Regions from separate parts of the Homo sapiens genome. Here region 2 is linked to region 1. Evidence: promoter capture Hi-C in 16 types of primary human blood cells and fetal thymus (Javierre and others, 2016). All regions are on one chromosome and are shown on one strand. Each heading gives the region's core, a stretch centred on a gene start or on the middle of the fragment in contact. The rest is flanking DNA. Distances are from core to core; before and after follow the strand shown. Region 1 holds the start of SLC25A5 (solute carrier family 25 member 5). Region 2 has its middle 9.7 kb from the start of SOWAHD.

Region 1 (5,259 bases), core at 1-2,500:
ATCTGCAGTGATCTGCTTGCTGGCATGCTGCACCTAACAGACAGGAAGGAAGCCAACAGGGACAGTTATAACCATGGGGAAGGGAAAGAGAAGAGCTTATGCCATCTCGATCAATGCCCTTTAAGGTAGGCTCCCCTCTCTCAAATCTAGTCTTCGTATATCATACTGGCTGGACCCTCCCAACCCTCTGAGGCTGTCACAGGGGAAGAGGTGATCTGCACCAGTAGCATTAAGCCTCCACCCCTCTGAGTGGAGAGGGGGCATCCTCCAGCGGACCCGTGACCTTCAGACCTAGGAGAAAGGTCATTACCTCAAACCCAGGTTCAGAGGCATTAGGGCGAGTCCCACATAGGGCGCGGTCACCTTGGGGACCGCAGCCTACGCCTCAAGTCTCCTGAGCTGCTTCCGTCTCGCTCCGCCCCCACTCCGCTCCCAGAGGTGACCCGAGCGCCGCCGCCGCCAGCCCTACACGCTAGCCCAGGAGCGCCCTCTAGAGCCGGCACTGGAGAGCGCGCGGCGCAGGGAGGCAGGCGGAGACGCGGCGGCAGCGGCCGCGGCTGCGCGGGGGCGGACGTAAAAGGCACACGCGCTTCCCGGCGCCGGCTTCCGGCCCGGCGAGGTTTGAGCGCGTCCGCGGGCTGGGAGGCCGCTGGACCCGGGCGCATGGCCTCCCCCGGGCAGTTATCTCCTTGCCGCGACCTTGAGGTCTTCGGTAAGAACTGGCGTTCCTCTTTCTAACGCCGGCTTTCGGCCTTCGCCCTTGACGCCCAGGCCCGGGGAGGCCGTCACTCAGAAACTGCTCCATCCGAGTCCGCCGCCTCGGAGATGCCGAGAGCCTGGTCCTGCCCTCTGCCCCCGGCCCCTTCCTAGACTCACTACTTCAGGTCACTAAAGGCGCCTCCCACCAGTTTGACTTCTGTTCTGCCTCTGCGCCCCGCTCTGGCCTCTCCTAAGCCGCTTCCCTGGCCATGTCTTTAGAGTTCGCTCCCCGCCACCCCTCGGGCGCCCGCCTTCTGTGCGACCCTTCCCCCCACTTCCTGGTTGGGCTCCTGGATCCCAGGACGTACCTGCAGCAGCAGCTTGACCCGCTCGATGGGCGCTACCGCCGTCTTGGAGATGGCTGCGGCCACTCCACCTGCCAGGAAGTCCTTGGCGAAGGACACAGCGGCATCTGTCATGTTGAAAGAGGAGGCAGACTGCTGCAGGACGGGACTGGGCCGGGAACCGGCTTTGACTCCGGCGCTGCGGGGCGGAGCGAAGCAAATGGCCGATTTATATAGGGGGAGCCGGAGCTGGAGCGGCAGGCGTCGGAGGCGGGGCCGGGGCGGGGTCTGGGCCCCGGCGCGCTGGGCGGCAGAGCCGCTGAGTGGCCCAGCTCGCAGGAGGAGGAGTCGTGGAGGGCGGGCCGGGACTGCTCTCCGCGCCGCCCGTGCTCGCCCTCGGCACCTGACCCGGCGAGAGGAAGGGGCGGGTCCAGAGAACACCCGGGACTTGAACGCTGGACCCTGAGAGAGGCCTCGGAGAGGGGAGGAAGGGTGAGGTCACGATGTGCCTGGACAAAAACCCTTGGAGCAGGACCAGGACTAGGGTGAGACGCATTTGCTACAGGGATGCCAAAAGAACCCTTCAGTCATCGAGATAAACAGTAGTCAATGCGATACTTTAAAAAAGTCGTATGGGCAAACTACATCCTACTGGCCGGCCCCCTTGTTTTGTAAATAAAGTTTAATTGGAGTGTCAAGGCTGGGTTTAGGGTGAGGCAAGCGAGACAAGGTCATGCAAGTGCAGGTTGGGATCCTGTCTGTATTTCAAATGTTGATCATTTGTTCATCATGGATTTTTGCATTGCTTCTGATTTTTTTAAAATAGTACATGAAAAATCATTTGTCTTAATTACTGAGTTGTTTTTCACCAAGGTGAATGCCTCACTCTTCCCACTCTAGACCGTGTGCTGTCCTGGAGCCAGTGAAACCAGACGAAATTAAGGGAACAGCAGACGAAGGAACTGCCACCGTGCCCCAGACCCTGGTTTGCAAATACAGTTCGACAAAGATCTTGCCAGGAATTGGCCTGGGAGAGTCCAAAGGACTGGGCTGGGGGTGGGGAAATGATTTTAGCCAGAAGACAAATATAGAGGTTGTACCCAGAAGGTTAAGAGGCTTAGGAAGGTTAAGAACTACGTTAACATTTGGCTCCCAGGACCCCAGGTAAAGTGCCCTTGGATTGAATAGATTTCTGAACTCCAGAAACATTTAGAGGAATCAATAGAATTAGATTGGCAGCCATTGTGCCAATGGACAAGTGCTTACTGAGCCCCTTAATCCCTTCACTGGGTAAGCATTTGCCACACATGTCCTCAAAAACCTACTTGTTAGCTTAAGTGGACTCCCTCAAGTTCAGAACAGGAGCAAATAGTGTAATCACAAGTTCCGTGTCTGAATAATCATAACAATGTTTATAAAAATAAGGACGACTGTTGAAAACTGCAACTGCAGCTGAACCTTATGTGCCCAGACTTCAGAATTCCCATAGGCAAAATGCCAGCAGGCCTTTGCACACTGAACACATAGTGTTCATATCCTTCACTTTCCTTTCCTGCCCTCTCCTATCTTCTCCAGATCTGCCTGTGAAAGGACCCAATTCTAGGACCCCCCAGGATGGTTAGGCCCTTCCTCTGAAAGTACACTTTGCAATTTGTTAGTCTCCTCAAGAACCCCAGCGATCGAAACTGATGCACACAAATTGCATGTGTTCAAAGGAGCAATTTTGAATCTAGCTTTGTTGATCCTGGGAGAAATCTTTGACCTGTGTTAGTGAAAGGCTATGGTGTTTCTCAGCTGATTATAATAGCGAGGTAGCTGAATGCAAAAAAACAGTTTCAGAGAATGGTAGAGTATATCCTCCAAAGGTGATACTCGCTTCTCTATTCTGGTGAGAGAAACAAGAGCTAAAGCAAAATTCTACAGAGGGCTTTATTTGGAGAGAGGTGGATTTTATTTATAATGCATTTAAAATTCAAAATCTTTCTAGTTTGAACTCTTGACATTCTGATTAATGCATTTTTATTCAACTGTTAATTATTCCTCGATACACCTCGCCATCACTTGTGTATCCCTTTTCTACATGTGACCTTTCCCTGGCCACATCTGCTACTCTCTTTGAGCATGATGCCTCTACTGTATTCTATTCCAGAGCTCATTGTTTTGTCAGTTTTTTTTCTCTCCACAAAAAAAGATGATCAAATAATTACATAGAATTTTTCCCTTCTCAGTCTTTGGGTAACTAAGTGTGGTTTTATTGACGATGAAATACAAGATGGGTCATTTAAAAGCAACTTCTTGTCATCACTTGGTATTTTGCTAAATCCACGGTGAGCTGGAGCTCCCGTAGTCACCTATCACCGCGTGTATTTTAAGGAGTCAGATATTCTCGAAACTGTTAAGATCATGAAAGACAAAGAGACTAAGGAACTGTCACAGATTAAAGGAGACTAAAGATACTTGACAACTGAATGTAATATATGACACTCAACCGGCTCCTGTACCAGAAAAAGGACATTGGTTATATTGGTGAGGTTTGAATATCTGTAGATTACCAATACTATTCTTGGTTATGGTGGTTATGTAAGATTTAGAGAAGTTGAATAAAGGATATAAGGACATTTTTGTACTATTTTTGCAACATTTAAAAAAGTCTGAAAGTTTAAAAACTTTTTAAAAAAGAAGGAAAAAGAAACAAGGAGCAAGCATCCAGGAAAATAGAAAATAGAGTCTCATTCTGTCACCCAGGCTGGAGTGCAGCGGCACGATCATAGCTCACTGCAGCCTCAAACTCCTAGGCTCAAGTGATCCTCCCACCTTAGCCTTCCAAATTGCTGGGATTACAGGTATGAGCCACTGCACCCAGCCGAGAAGAATATTAATGATGATGATGATGATGATGATGATGATGTTGATAATGATATATGGCTGGTCAGTTAATCAAAACTAATTCCTCCATTGAGACATAGTGCTGTGTTAGTAATTATTGTGTTTCTGGAAGCTATGTAAAATATAAGTCTAATTAAGAGGAACTAAAGCTAAGGCAATGCCTAGTAATTCTCAAGGAAAAACAAGGAAGAGAGTCAGAAATGACACTTTTAAGGCCTCAGATATCTATGTACCAACACCCAGAATATGGGTAATAAAGGGAATGTAATTTTTTTTTTTTTGAGACAGAGTTTTGCTCTTGTCGCCCAGGCTGGAGTGCAATGGCGCGATCTCCGCTCACTGCAACCTCCACCTCCTAGGTTCAAGCGGTTCTTCAGCCTCAGCCTCCTGAGTAGCTGGGATTACAGGCACGCCACCACCACGCCTGGCTAATTTTTGTATTTTTAGTAGAGACAGGTTATTACCATGTTGGCCAGGCTGCTCTCAAACTCCTGACCTCAGGTGATCTGCCTGCTTTGGCCTCCCAAAGTGCTGGGATTACAGGCATGAGCCGCAGCGACTGGCCGGGAATGTAAAATTTTAATACACTCAGGAAAATGCAATTTTATAGGTATTGTTTAGACTTGGGAGGGTGGAACTTCTGGCTGGCATCTGGAAAACTTGATTCAGAGATACCATACAGAAGAAGAGAGCAGTAATATGTCAAGAAGGTATAACTAGTAATTCATTGGCTGGAGGGTGAAAAGCATTCAGTGAGAATGAAACGGAGAAATGAAAGTGATTATAGTTGTAGAAGTATACAAGAGACTTCTCAGATTAAAAGTATGAATGGGGCCGGGCGCGGTGGCTCACGCCTATAATCCCAGCACTTTGGGAGGCCGAGGCAGGTGGATCACCTGCGGTCAGGAGTTTGAGATCAGCCTGGCCAACATGGTAAAACCCCGTCTCTACTAAAAATACAAAAATCAGCCAGGTGCGGTGACTCAGGCCTGTAATCCTAGCTACTCAGGAGGCTGAGGCAGGAGAATCGCTTGAACCCGGGAGGCAGAGGTTGCAGTGAACCCACATCGTGCCGCTGCACTCCAGCCTGGGTGACAGAGCGAGACTCCATCTCAAAATAAAAATAAAAATAAAAAATAAATAAAATAAATAAAAGTATGAATGGCATTTCATAAAACTGTCACATAGACGAACAGGAAAGGGTGATCAGAGACATAGAACATCTGAATATCTGCTGGAAGTTATTCTGATAGCAACATATCTGATACATTCTTTTTTCTTATTTTTAAGACCATCTTAAATTTAAGAAAACATCTGATAGATTCTTGGC
Region 2 (5,968 bases), core at 2,957-5,456, 280 kb before region 1:
ACCCCGTCTCTACTAAAAATACAAAAAATTAGCTGGGCATAGTGGCGGGCACCTGTAGTCCCAGCTACTCCGGAGGCTGAAGCAGGAGAATGGCGTGAACCGGGAAGGCGGAGCTTGCAGTGGGCCGAGATCGCGCCACTGCACGCCAGCCTGGGCGACAGAGCAAGACTCCGTCTCAAAAAAAATAAATAAATAAAAAATAAGGAACGAAATAACTGACACATGCTACAACATGGAGGAATGTGAAAAATACTATGCTAAGTGAAAGAACCAGACACAAAAGACTCTTCTGATTCCTACAGGAGATGTCCAGACGAGGCAAATCCATACAAACAGAAAGTAGGTCAGTGGTTGTCAAGGCAGGCATGAGGGAAGAGGGAGAATAGAGAATGATTGCTAATGGGTATGGGTTTCTTTGGGGGTGTTGAAAATATTCTGGAATTAGATAGTGGTGATGAGAGGTGACAGCGTGCTGGCAGTCCTCAGAGCCCTCGCTTGCTCTCGGCGCCTCCTCTGCTTGGGTTCCCACTTTGGCGGCACTTGAGGAGTCCTTCCGCCCGCCGCTGCACTGAGGGAGCCCCTTTCTGGGCTGGCCAAGACCAGAACCAGGTCCCTCAGCTTGCAGGGAGGTGTGGAGGGAGAGGCGCGAGCAGGAACCGGGGCTGCGCGCAGCGCTTGCGGGCCAGCTGGAGTTCTGGGTGGGCGTGGGCTTGGCGGGCCCCGCACTCGGAGCAGCCGGCCGGCCCTGCCGGCCCCGGGCAATGAGGGACTTAGCACCCAGGCCAGTGGCCAGTGGCTGTGGAGGGTGTACTGGGTCCCCCAGCAGTGCCGGCCCACCGGCGCTGTGCTGGATTTCTCGCTGGGCCTTAGCTGCCTTCCCGCGGGGCAGGGCTCGGGACCTGCAGCCCGCCATGCCTGAGCCTCCCACCCACTCCATGGGCTCCTGTGCGGCCCCAGCCTCCCCGACGAGCACCACCCCCTGCTCCACGGCGCCCAGTCCCATCGACCGCCCAAGGGCTGAGAAGTGCAAGCACACGGCACGGGACTGGCAGGCAGCTCCACCTGCGGCCCCAGTGCGGGATCCACTAGGTGAAGCCAGCTGGGCTCCTGAGTCTGGTGGGGAAGTGGAGAGTCTTTATGTCTAGCTGAGGGATTGTAAATACACTAATCAGCACCCTGTGTTTAGCTCAAGGTTTGTGAGTGCACCAATCGACACTCTGTATCTAGCTGCTCTGGTGGGGCCTTGGAGAACCTTTATGTCTAGCTCAGGGATTGTAAATACACCAATCGGCACTCTGTATCTAGCTCAAGGTTTGTAAACACACCAATCAGCACCCTGTGTTTAGCTCAAGGTTTTGAATGCACCAATCGACACTCTGTATCTAGCTGCTCTGGTGGGGCCTTGGAGAACCTGTGTGTCAAAACTCTGTATCTAACTAATCTGATGGGGACGTGGAGAACCTTTGTATCTAGCTCAGGGATTGTAAACGCACCAATCAGCGCCCTGACCAAACAGGCCACTGGGCTCTACCAATCAGCAGGATGTGGGTGGGGCCAGATAAGAGAATAAAAGCAGGCTGCCCGAAGCAGCATTGACAACCCGCTCCCGTCCCTTACCACACTGTGGAAGCTTTGTTCTTTCACTCTTTGCAATAAATCTTGCTAATGCTTACTCTTTAGGTCCACGCTGCTTTTATGAGCTGTAACACTTAACCGCCAAAATCTGCAGCTTCACGCCTGAGCCCAGTGAGACTACGAGCCCACTGGGAGGAATGAACAACTCCCCACGCGCTGCCGTAAGAGCTGTAACACTCACCGGGAAGGTCTGCAGCTTCACTCTTGAGCAAGTGAGACCACGAACCCACCAGAAGAAAAAAACTCCAAACACATCTGAACATCAGAAGGGACAGACTCCAGACGCGCCACCTTAAGAGCTGTAACACTCACCGCGAGGGTCCGCGGCTTCCTTCTTGAAGTCAGTGAGACCAAAAACCCACCAATTCCAGACACGGTGATGGTTGCACAGCCTTGTGAATATACTAAAAAGCACTGAAATATACACTTTAAAGTGGTGAGTTGCTGGGCGCAGTGGCTCATGGCTGTAATCCAAGCACGGTGGGAGGCCGAGGTGGGCAGATCACCTGAGCTCAGGAGTTCAAGACCAGCCTGGCCAACTTGATGAAACCCCATCTCTACTAAAAATACAAAATTAGCCGGGCTTGGTGGTGCATGCCTGTAATCCCAGCTGCGCAGGAGGCTGAGGCAGGAAAATCGCTTGAACCTGGGAAGTGGAAGTTGCAGTGAGCCGAGATCACACCATTACACCCCAGCCTGCCCAACGAAAGCTAAACTTCGTTTAAAAAAAAAAGTGAATTGTATGGTATGTGAATTATAGCTCAGTAAAGCTGTTGCCATAAAGTGCATTATGTCCCTTAATCTTTACAACAACTCTAAGAGACTAATGAGAATCTGAGGCCCAATGAAGTTAATTGACCACGTTCACACAGCTAGTAATTGGCAGGAAACCCATCCAGCTTCAACTGATTCCAAGGCTCATACTTTTAACCATCATGTTACACTGGGTCTAATGCATCCCTCATTTACATAGAGGATGTTGTAAAAGCCAACACTCATTGAGGCCTTAATATGTGCCAAACACTATGCTAATCACATCACATTCATGATGCTTAACATTATGGTAGATATTAAAGCAATAATCTCCAATTTTTTTTTTTTTGAGATGGGAATCTGGCTGTGTCACCCAGGCTGGAGTGCAGTGGCACCATCATAGCTCACTGCAGCTTCTAACTCCTGGGCTCAAACCATCCTCCCACCTCAGCCTCCTGAGTAGCTGGGAGTACAGGCATGTGCCACCATGCCCAGCTAATTGTTTGTTTTTTGAGACAGAATTTCGCTCTTGTTGCCCAGGCTGGAGTGCCATGATGCCATCTTGGCTCACTGCAACCTCCACCTTCCGGGTTCAAGCGATTCTCCTGCCTCAGCCTCCCGAGTAGCTGGGATTACAGGTGCCCACCACCACGCCCAGCTAATTTTTTTGATTTTTAGTAGAGGCAGGGTTTCGCCATGTTGTCTCAAACTCCTGACCTCAGGAGATTCGCCTGCCTTGGCCTCCCAAAGTGCTGGGATTACAGGCGTGAGCCACTGCACCCAGTCCCAGCTAATTTTTTAAAAATTGTTTTAGAGATGGGATCTCACCATATTGCCAAGGCTGGTGTCCCAACGTTTTAAATTGCATGCCCCTATAATAAAAATATTTTGAGCAGATATTCTCAACATTCGTGAATATTTTGCAATTTCAAAATGATGTGTGTGTATTACTCTATGAAATATGTATATTATAAAGCATACACAAAAAGGAAATTTTAAAAGGATGAGACAAAGATAAAATATAGTTTAAAATAATTTACAGTTTTATAATGCTTGTAGTACAAAACTATTTGGATATTCATTAAAATTTTATTATTAATTTTTTCACAAGAGAATGTGATTGCATATGCTTCGTTTTTAAAACATCTTTTTTTTTTTCTTTTTTTGAGACAGGGTCTCACTCTGTTCCCCAGGCTGGAGTGCAGTGTTAAGAATACAGCTCACTGCAACCTCAACCTCCTGGGCTCAAGTGATCCTCACCCCCAGGCCCCCAAGTATCTGGGACTACAGGCGTGTGTCACCATGCCAGGCTAATTTTTGTATTTTTTGTAGAGATGAGTTTCACCATGTTGCCCAGGCTGGTCTCGAACGCCTGGGCTCAAGCAATCTACTCACCTTGGCCTCCCAAAGTACTGGAATTACAGGGGTGAGCCACTTTACTTAGCCATTTTTTAAAAATCTAACATCATTGTTATTAGAAAGTGCTGGCTGGGTGCGGTGGCTCACACCTGTAATCCCAGCACTTTGGGAGGCCAAGGCAGGTGAATCACCTGATGTCAGAAGTTCGAGACCAGCCTGGCCAACATGTTGAAAAACCGTCTCTACTAAAAATAAAAAATTAGCTGGGTGTGGTGGCACACGCTTGTTGTCCCAGCTACTCGGGAGGCTGAGGCAGGAGAATCACTTGAACTCAGGAGGTGGAGGTGTAGTGAGCCGAGACCTCGCCACTGCACTCTAGCCTGGGCACCAGAGCAAGACTCCGTCTCAAAAAAAAAAAAAAAAAAGTGCTAGGCTACTATGACCGTTCTTAGGTTAACACTATAATGCAGCTCTTTGAAGGTGCGGATCTTACTTTATTGCAGCACTCAGTTTTAGTGGATGTCACACATAAGCAAGATGTCTCACAAAGATACACAGCTCCAAATGGAAGAAAAATTTAATTGGCTGGGCTTAGTACATCATAATTCTTGTTTTTCAATTCCACCCACCAATTATGCAAAGGTTTCTGATGAAATTCAGTTGGTAAACGGTCATTTTTGCTGATGGCAATCATTTGTTCTTGCAAAACGGTAAGTACTTGTTGCACCTTTGTGTTTTTAACAAATGTGCCGAAAACCCACAAAAAACTCTACATTTGAAATATGTTTAAAAAGCAGGTTAGGAATTTTTATTCTGAAGTTTTAAAATGTGCAGATATGATAGGTTTTCTAGGTATGCTACTTACATCATTTTTGGCCACAAAATTACATAACAATGAAAACACAAACATCCATTTTCCAAATGTTCTCTGCCTGTTCTGCATTTCCTTCCAAAGCAGTTACTTTCTCACTCATTGTTAAAATATCAACTTTATCTTGAAGAACTGGATGGGCTGTGTTTATTATGATTTTTTTTTAAAAGTCTCCTGGCTGGGCGCGGTGGCTCACACCTGTAATCCCAGCACTTTGGGATGCCGAGACTGGCGGATCACCTGAGACCAGGAGTTTGAGACTAGGCTGGCCAACATGGCAAAACTCTGTCTCTACTAAAAATACAAAAAAATTAGCTGGGCATGGTGGCAGGTGCCTGTAATCCCAGCTACTCAGGAGGCTGAGGCAGGAGAATCGCTTGAACCTGGGAGGCGGAAGTTTCAATGAGCCGAGATTGCACCATTGCACTCCAGCCTGGACAACAAGAGCAAAACCTCACGGCAAAAAAAAAAAAAAAAAGTCTTCTGACTACTCTAAGACACCCCTGAAAATGTCAGTAAATTTGAAATGCGTATCTTTATGTGGAAAAAAAAGTGCATCTTTTAGTTTGAAAACTCTTTTAAGGACTTACATAATAGAATTCTTTAAAGATTTTACTGGTATATTGGCTGGGCACGGTGGCTCACACCTGTAATCCCAGCACTTTGGGAGGCCAAGGAGGGAGGATCACCTGAGGTCAGGAGTTTGAGACCAGCCTGGCCAACATGGTGAAACCCCCATCTCTACTAAAAATACAAAAAAAAAAAAAAAAAAAAAGCCGGGCCTGGTGACACGCACCTGTGGTCCCAGCTACTTGGGAGACTGAGGCAGGAGAATTGCATGAGCCTGGGAGGTGGAGGTTGCAGTGAGCTGAGATCACACCACTGAACTCTAGCCTGGGCGAAAGAGTGAGACTGTCTAAAAAAAAAAAAAAATTACTGTATATCAAGTCTTATTTTGCCAGGCACGGTGGCTCATGCCTGTAACCGCAGCACTTTGGGAGGCCGATGAGGGTAGATCATTTGAGGTCGGGAGTTTGAGACCAGCCTGGCCAACAAGGAGTAACCCTGTCTCAACTAAAAATACAAAAATTAGCTGGGCTTGGTGGCACGTGCCTGTAATTTCAGCTATTTGGTAGGCTGAGGCAGGAGAATCACTTGAACCCAGAGGCAGAGGTTGCAGTGACCCGACATTGTGCTACTGTACTCCAGCCTTGGCAACAGAGTGAGACCCTGTTTCCAAAAAAAAAAAAGTCTTATTTTTATACCGTTAACCAGATTAATGAATCCTATAGCACTTTGTACATTTCAGGCTTCAATATCTTTGCTGTGATAGCTCGCCAACTTTCTCAG

Evidence for each region. Contacts are between HindIII fragments. The CHiCAGO score rates a contact against its expected background, and 5 or more counts as called.
Region 2: a contact is called between a fragment that was not itself captured here and the fragment with the promoter of SLC25A5 in region 1, in 1 of 17 cell types (naive B cells). The highest score is 5.4, in naive B cells.

The regions. Positions count from the first base shown.
Region 1 is chrX:119,464,435-119,469,693 of GRCh38, reverse strand. It overlaps SLC25A5 (solute carrier family 25 member 5), which reads right to left and starts at 1,250. Exons shown (of 4, transcript NM_001152.5): 1 at 1,068-1,250; 2 at 1-33. The coding sequence starts at 1,178. SLC25A5-AS1 (SLC25A5 antisense RNA 1) reads left to right here and starts at 574. Exons shown (of 1, transcript NR_028443.1): 1 at 574-3,661. RefSeq lists silencers at 461-700, 1,191-1,570. The HindIII fragment of the contact is 10,795 bases long and covers 1-5,259 here.
Region 2 is chrX:119,745,881-119,751,848 of GRCh38, reverse strand. No RefSeq gene overlaps it. Among named protein-coding and RNA genes, the nearest start is that of SOWAHD, 9.7 kb to the left of the region's middle. The HindIII fragment of the contact is 5,147 bases long and covers 1,633-5,968 here.